Regions from separate parts of the Homo sapiens genome. Here region 2 is linked to region 1. The links are contacts of gene promoters, found by promoter capture Hi-C in human tissues and cell types (Jung and others, 2019). All regions are on one chromosome and are shown on one strand. The core of a region is centred on a gene start or on the middle of the fragment in contact, and the rest is flanking DNA. Distances in the headings are between cores, read along the strand shown.

Evidence for each region. Contacts are between HindIII fragments. The study calls those that stand out against the background at their distance.
Region 2: a contact is called between a fragment that was not itself captured here and the fragment with the promoter of EIF4G2 in region 1, in 1 of the 25 tissues and cell types used here (bladder).

Annotation. Positions count from the first base shown.
Region 1 is chr11:10,807,132-10,811,275 of GRCh38, reverse strand. EIF4G2 (eukaryotic translation initiation factor 4 gamma 2) reads left to right here and starts at 2,350. Exons shown (of 22, transcript NM_001418.4): 1 at 2,350-2,571; 2 at 3,895-4,021. The coding sequence starts at 3,981. LOC101928053 (a long non-coding RNA gene) reads right to left here and starts at 1,979. Exons shown (of 3, transcript NR_120540.1): 1 at 1,910-1,979; 2 at 1,355-1,419. RefSeq lists enhancers at 1,266-1,872, 1,948-1,997, 2,508-2,767, 3,498-3,577 and a silencer at 2,178-2,227. The HindIII fragment of the contact is 7,870 bases long and covers 1-4,144 here.
Region 2 is chr11:10,324,522-10,328,665 of GRCh38, reverse strand. All of the region lies in intron 1 of CAND1.11 (a long non-coding RNA gene), which reads right to left. Among named protein-coding and RNA genes, the nearest start is that of CAND1.11, 18 kb to the right of the region's middle. The HindIII fragment of the contact is 5,263 bases long and covers 1-4,144 here.

The DNA of each region.
Region 1 (4,144 bases), core at 1,101-3,600:
GGCCCAGACGGGTGGATCACTTGAGGTCAGGAGTTTGAGACCAGTCTGGGCAACATGGTGAAACCCCATCTCAAGTAGAAATACAAAAATTAGCTGGGCGTGGTGGCACATGCTTGTAATCCCAGCTACTCAGGAGGCTGAGGCACGAGAACTGCTTGAACCCAGGAGGTGGAGGCTGCAGTGTGCAGAGATCACACCACTACACTCCAGCCTGAGTGACAAAGTGAGACTCTGTCTCAAAAAAAAATTTTTTTTTCTAAAGGTTTTACTTAATGTTTTTATTTAATCTTTGCTAATTGTGAACCCTTCTGCAATGGGCTTTGCAGGTACGATTTCAACTTCAAATCTTTCTATTTAAGTGAGAGAAAGGTAATTGAAAGATTGTTTTATCAATATTTTTACTTTTTCTACCTTAGGTTATTCCCTTCCAGGTCAATTTCTCACATAAACTCATATCTGCAAAGCCCATACCAAAAGGGTTCCCAATTAGCAAAGATTAAATAAAATATTAAGTAAAACCTTTTTTAAATTTTTAATTACTGAATTTTAAGTGTCTTAATTATAAGAACATCCGACTTTTACGGCTAGGTGAATATTCTCTTTGAAGTCTAGACAATAGTTTTTGAATACTACTCTTCTTAGTAAACTAATGTATTCGTTCATTATCAGATAAATGGAATGTAAACCAGTTATGTAAAAATATCACATATACTAATGCATTTTTCCAAACCTTAAAGCCCTACAGAAATTATAAAGAAACATTATTCTCGTGTTATCATGAAGCTAGAAGGGTCCAAAGAAATACAAAGTGAAACCTCTTGTATTTAAAACAAAACTTGCACCACCACCACCACCCCAAAATAGTTTTTTTTTTTTTTTAGAATATCTCTTCCAAGTTTTAAAGTTCAAGTAAAATTGATGTAATAGCAATAAGTGTAGTAACAGTAAAGTAGGGAATGGTGACTATTCTATAGCAAAGATCTACAGATGTTGGAATTGTGTTAAAAACCTTCAGAGCCACACCACAGCCTTCTATTACATTTAAATGTCGTAGGAAAAACTGCAATTTTCCGGAAAATTGTATTAAGGACCAGGTGCTCTAATACCAAGAGCTGTTTTGACACATCAAAGGTTAAGTTTGGGTCTTTGAAAATCCTGCCTCTTACTGAACACTTTAAAAGTCATTCATGTTAAAACACACACATTCTTGCCTTTGACTATACACTGTAAAAGTACTACATGTTAAAATGGAGATGGGGACATTTTTGTTGTTTAAGTTTATGGAAGTATGACTCCATTTTAGTATAGCTACAATGTCGCAAACGATGGAATAAGGTACTCATCAATACATTACCTGGTAAGTATAAATAGTTCAACTTGCCGGCTTTGAAAAGCTTAATCCTATTTCTTATGGTGAACCTTAAATAAAATGAAAATACACAACTGACAATGTTTAACGTGCACTTAAACAAACAAAAAACAAAAAAAAACAGGAGCTAGCAATTCGAAATCCTCCAAACACCCGCGGAAGTCTGACACACAGGGTGTTTTCCTCGGTGACCGCCAGCCGGACATTCCTATGGGAAAAGCAGCTTCTTCTGTGCGGTTCGAAGAAAATCAACCCCTTCCTTTCATCACTTTCTCATTCACTCTGCAGGGGGTGGGCCAATAAGGAGCTGAATGAAGCTCCCCTTTGGCATCCGGGCGCACGTCTCGCCTCCTCCCCACTACTTTCTGGGTTCCCTAAGGCTGCCGAAGCCGAGGACCTGGAGCCGGGTAGTGTCCCGGCGCTGCGCCCGGGGGCTCCAGGCCTCAACCCGAAGGGCTCAGCCCCGGGAGAGGCCAGGCACGCGAGGGCAGCCACAGCTCCAAGGGGCGCCAAGAAAAGCAATGCTCACTCGCCACGCACAGGGTTCGGGGGAGGTAAGGGTGCGTTTTCTTCCCATATTCCCGGTGAGAAAACGAGGTCGAGGGAAAAGGGGATGATACAACTGGAGCATGGCATATGGACTCAGTGAACAAAGGGACTGGAGCAAGAAGCAGCAGCCACGCCAACGCAGACTCAAAAGGGCTCTCCGGCTTTACGCACGCAACCCTCATCTCGACAGCGCTCGGCGCCCCTTACGCCACTGGCTCAGCCTCAGAGACTTCGCGAATATGGCTTTGCGCACTGCGGCGGGGCTGCGCCGCAACCGAGCTCAGCCCTGTGGCTCCTCCTCGCTGCCCTGCGCGGATTGGTGGCAGACGGCAACCGGGCCGCTGATTGGGCGGCGAAGGAGCCATTCGGGGAGACTCTGGTGGGTTCGGCTGCCCCAAGAGTGATAAGTTCGGCTTCAGACACGCCTTAGCGCCAGCAGTGAGTCGGAGCTCTATGGAGGTGGCAGCGGGTACCGAGTGGCGGCTGCAGCAGCGACTCCTCTGAGCTGAGTTTGAGGCCGTCCCCGACTCCTTCCTCCCCCTTCCCTCCCCCTTTTTTTTGTTTTCCGTTCCCCTTTCCCCTCCCTTCCCTATCCCCGACGACCGGATCCTGAGGAGGCAGCTGCGGTGGCAGCTGCTGAGTTCTCGGTGAAGGTGAGTTGAGCCGCTGCCGCCGCCGAGTGGAGCGCTCTAAAATGGCCGCCGTCCCTGGTCGCTTCTTCTCGAGTGGTACAAAATGGCGGCCGCAGGCGGAGCCGGGTGGGGCGACCCTTTTTTAGCATTTCCTCTGCGCTTCAGATACCTGGAAAGTCTTGGCTTTTGTTCTCTCTTCCTGTTGCTGACGGAGTAGAAGGAAAACGTCAGTGTTGGCCAGGCCGCCGTGCGGTCATGGCCGGATGGCCGACGCCTGCAGGGACGAGGCCGTGGCGGACCGAGGCACGGCTGTGCTCGGACGGCGAGGGAGCGTGGCTCGGACCGCTAGCGCCGTGGCGGGAGGCACGCGGGCCGGCAGGGAAGGCCAGGCCGTTGGCGCGGGACCAGGGAACCGCAGGCGTCCCGGAGCCTGGCCTCCCGGCGGGGAGGTGTGTAGGACCTGGAGTCGGCAGGGGCTGCCCTTCGTCGGGGAGGAAAGAGAGAGTGATGATTTCTGCCCCTTTTGTCAGCAGAGGAGGCCGTGGCGAGGCGGTTGTCAGTCCCGGGGGGATTTATGGTGCAGGAGGGGGCCCGCTTGGAGGCGGCGGGTGGGCAGGAGGCCGCCTTCCTGCTTGGAGAACAAAGAGCTGGGCGCCGGGCTGGCGGGGGTGGCCTCAGCTGCTCCTCCCCGTCGAGCGACCCGGGCCTCGCGGGGAGGTTGTCGGAAGCACTTCCCTAACTTGCGCCTGGGTGGGAGGAATGCTCCGCTCTTTTGTTCCCAGGAAGGGAAAAACGGGGCGGAGGTTCCTGCTGCCATGTTGTGGCCCTGGTCTTCCGCCTGCAAGTGCTAGTCCTGTACACCCGGCCCCCTCTCGCGCGTCTTTCCACGAGCTCTCCACGGGGAGGAGGCGAAAGGGTGGACAGGGGAAAACTGCTGAAGAGCTTTCGGAGAGACCTCATCTAGTCGCTGGCCTCGTCAAGGCAGTAAAAATTCCTAGGGCAGACATTTTCCACGTGATGTTGCTCGTGTCTGTAGTTAGACTTTTCTATTGATCTCAGTGCTCAGTTTTAAAGATAGTAGAATGTGGCTTTTTCAAAAGATTCGTTCTGAGCCGTTTAAAATGCTCTTGTGTTCTACGAAGTCTCTTTGCATCCTTGAACACCGGGGAATTTCCAGGTGGCTAAACAAAATGTAATTGTCAGTGTTTTGAGTACATTTTAGGTTAGTCTTACAGATCTGCAATGCAGTGACAGTGCCAGGATCTGAAATACGTTGTAATTGAATGAAGGCTTATAGATCTGTATGTTAGCAGTGTCTAATTTTGGTGCTCTTTCTCGTTCCAGGTATTTCATTTCTCCTGTCCCCTCCCCTCCCCACCCCATCTATTAATATTATTCTTTTGAAGATTCTTCGTTGTCAAGCCGCCAAAGTGGAGAGTGCGATTGCAGAAGGGGGTGCTTCTCGTTTCAGGTACTTGTAGATTTATTTTGGGGAATCCTTTTGAAAAGGCCAGTCTCAAAAAGTAGTTAACACAGCAAATAAGTCCGACTTAATGGGCTGCAATTTTCATTTGAAAAGTTCTTAAGTTTTCAT
Region 2 (4,144 bases), core at 510-3,009, 480 kb after region 1:
GCTAAATCTGGGGGTAATGAAATGACCGAAATCTGACTTACAGCCACTGTGTGTACTCCAAATGATTCCTCCTTCCTATTAGTCATAACATAACCCTTTGTCCTTGAACCAGGCTGCTCTGCCTAGTTTCCTGTTCTTCATGCAAAAACTCCAAGAAACCAGCCTTGCCAACCTCCGATAGGAGTCTAAAGCTACCATTTAGTCTGAAAACTGAGATCTGTGCTACACTTGAATGCAAAGTCATCAGAATTAGCTTACACAAGTTCCCCTTTCTCCCTCTGGCATATACTTCCACTCCTTTGCCATCCCAGCTTTGACTTCCCTTTCTTCTTCAGCCCTAATGAGAACTGGGAGTGCGAAAAAATGTAAGGAAGAAAGGAGGAAAAAGAAGAAAGACAGGAGAGATTAATCTCGATCCCAAAGATAGGTAGGACCTTTTGTTATTACACCAGCAAGTCATGGTTCTCTCCTTTCTTCCCTCTTTGTCTCCCAACCCTCTTCAACATGTATACTTGCCAAGGGCTAGGGAAACCCCAGCTTACAAGATCTACTCCCTCTAAAGGGACTGATCCTAAAATTAAAGCCAGTCCAGAGGGGCCACCTTTCTAGCCCAGGCAAGATATTCAAGCCTCAAACCAGGTTAAGGTCGTGTTGGAGTCCACACATGCCCTCTTCTTCCCTATCCAACAAAGGCCTGAGAAACTATGGTCTTTTCCATTAATGCCCTTGGACTGGAAGGGCAGGGGTCATATATAAATTCTGTGCTAAATACTATGAATTTTTTTTCTTTTTTCAGCATGAGACAGATACTGTGAATGCTATATCCCATTTAATGCCCATAGTAAATCCTGTGCTATAATGTATTAATTAAGATGGCTTCCATTAAAAGGAGCAGAAAGCTCAACTCACTATGGGTTACTAAGTGAAGGAGATGATTGGTTTATACAATAGAAGTATGACAGGATTGAGGATGGGTCCATTTAGGAGTTCAACAACTTTATCAGGGAGTTCTATTTTCCATCACTCCACTCTGCCATTCACAATGAGAGCTTCCATCTAGGGCTTGCCCCTGTTTTAGTCTCAGAGTGGCTTTCTATTGCTGCTGAGACTGCATATGTCTCCCACTTTTATCTAGCAGGAGAAAGGGAACTTGTTTTTCTGGAAATAAGCCAGTAAACTTATGCAAACTCATTGGCCTGAATTGCTAGTGAGACCACATATGTGTCCCATTCTTATCTAGCAGGAAAAAGGAAATTTGTTTTTCTGGAAATAAGCCAATAAACTTATGCAAGCTCACTGGCCTGAATTAGGCCAGCACCCATCACTGGGTCCTGTAATAGTGGCCTTAAAATGGAATTGCACTAGGCCTGAGTCTTCAGGAGTGGAGTGGTCTATTGGGGGAGATGTGGATACCCTAACAAAAGTCATGGTAGTTACCAAGAGAAGAACAAGGGCTGGGGAGGCAACTCCAAGGCTCTCTTAGCTACATATTATCCTATTTTTCAGAGGAGAAACTGAAGCTTGGAGATGCTGCTGTGTGTAATGATAGAGCCAGGACTCTCACCCTTCCCTACACCAGGTTATCTTGAAGAAACAAACCAAAGAAAAGCCGGAATGGTCATCCCTTCACTTTCAGCCTAAAACATGTAGATAGGAAAGAGAAGCAGGGATTTCATGAGACTGGGAAAATCTCAGCCACTGTGCACCCAGGAGCTACTGAATCTACCTACTCCACAAAGCTGAGGCAGCTTTGAACCTTCACATCACCTGGAACCATGCCTAGCTCAGCAACTATTTGTAAACTGAAGAGCAGAGACTACAAAGGTATTACCCATAATGATGAGTTCTAGAGCACTGTTTCCCCAGCCCATTCTGGGTTAAATCAGAGGTGTGGGCTAGCCTGGGAACCTTGCCACACTGCATAACATTGCTCCTCCTGGGGAATGTCTTCCGAGTTCTAAAGGACAGATTTGCAAATAGACTTCTGGAGTACAGCCCCATCCACTGCTGGGAACTGCCTTTGTTTGACTTGTTTATTCAGGAGAGCTTCTCTGGACTTTCACCCAGCCGCTGCCTGGCAGGAGGTGACCTGGCTTTAGCCAACAGTGGGTGGGGACAGCAGGAGAGCAGCTTCTGCTCAGTGCTAACTGGACACAAAGCTATACCATAGGAAGGGGGAAGGGCAGAGTATTCAAAGGCCATAAGACAGCTAGTCTTTGACAAGGGACCTCATTTAAGGAGCATGAGTCTCCCTGTCTCACTTCTACCTGGTGGAAGAGTGAGACAAAATTAACTTACATGACTTGAAAGGCTTTTGCAATTTTTGAGGGCCACTGAGTATAAATTTTCCAATAAGCAGCTGTTGGCTTTTGTTCCTGCTGAGGTCTCTCACAAGGCAGCATCAGGTTTGAGTGTCATGGCCTGCCATGGCCCCACTGGCCTTGAGGGTTTCTGTGGCCTATTTTAAGCAATTTTACTGTTCATGGTCCTGGCAAACATATCCATTTTTCTGACAATATTTATAGTCTGATGTAAGTGTGAACTAGATAATGACCTTTTCAAGTCATGGCACAATGTTCTGTTTAAAGTTTTCATTTTTTTGCTCAGAACATCTGCAAGATCCTTTGACCCTTCTGCATGGTCTCTTGGAGATTTTCCTAACTTTCTGACCACTTGTGGGGATAGAGGGGTGAATGATGGGCAGACCCTTCACGTGTCTTGGGTCATGTGAGCATCTGAGCCTACAGAGAACACTCCTTTTGCTTCTGAAGCTCTTGCAGCCCGTTCTGAGAAATGTAATGCTGACCAGTTCATCTCAGGCATTTCTTTCTCTCCGGACATTATAGGATCACCCTCAAAACACGTGTGAGGGCACATACATCATCAGCTTCCCATAGTGAGTAGTTCCTAGGACTTGGATAACATTTCAAGCTTGACATGGCTAAAACAATACCATATCTGCAGTTAACTTTAGGTGACTCACCAGAAGAGCTATTTTAAACAAATTTGTAGCGACTAAGATTACATTTGTTCTATGAAAAACAGACTGAAAGGACAAAAGGCTAATGCAATATTTTTGAAACGCTCTTTTTAAGCTCAATGAAGTCCTGCTGTATTTTCTTGACAGCATCCTAGTTACCAGGCATAACAGGAGGGGCAATAACTGGTATCTAAACCACTCAAGAAACAAGCATGTCTTGACACCATCCAGCAGGAGTATATGTTCATCAGAAGACAGGTTTGTAGAAATAGTGATGGCCATGTTCATCTAGTCACCAGGGATTCTAATGTATTCCCTTTCAAAATAATATTGGTCAGGCTAGAGCTCTGGTAGCCTTGTGAAGGGTATGGTTTACCAGTCACCTGGCCTGCCTTAAGGTCATCTTCAGTTCTCCTGGCAATTACTATACTCTCTTCTCTATCCCAGAGTGCAGACACATTTCTGTATTTAGTTCAAAGAAAATCAACAGCACAAATTCATAGGGATTCCTGACAAAGCCAGAAGGTCAGAGCTAGAAGCAGATTGGGGCTTCTAGCTCTGACCTTTCAGCTGAGACAAGATTTCTAAGGGGAGAAGAATGAACAGATGTGAGGAATGGGGTGCTCTCATGCTACTCAAATGAAGCACAAAGGTAAACACCAACCTCATTATTCTCCTGAGAAGTTGCTTATTTTCCTGGGGTGGGGAACCTGGGGGCAGGCAGAACCTTCAAGGCCTGAGAACTATCAAGAGACTCTTTAGGAGGCGAGGAGAAGCTGAAACCACTATCCCAACCCAGTTCTCCTGAGTTTTCCTTCCTGCTTCGGGTTTCCCACTTCATTTCCCATTGCCGTGGCATCATGTCAGCCCCTACCTGTGAGGAGATACTGACATTTCTTTAGTGTTATACAAACTCCTTCCCTGAACTCTTCTTCACATAGCTGAGATAGGCTGGAACTTTTCCAAAGCCTTTACAAAATACTGAGGGAGAACAACGGGGACATAAACAAGAAAATACATGAAGCATAAACATGGTCAAGCTTGTGCAATATGTTAACAATCATAATATTTAGGGAATGAGACACAGAAGGGAGAAATGTTGTACATAATAACCTTGTTTGATAATTTTTAGGAACTGTATATACTTTATAAGTAATACACATT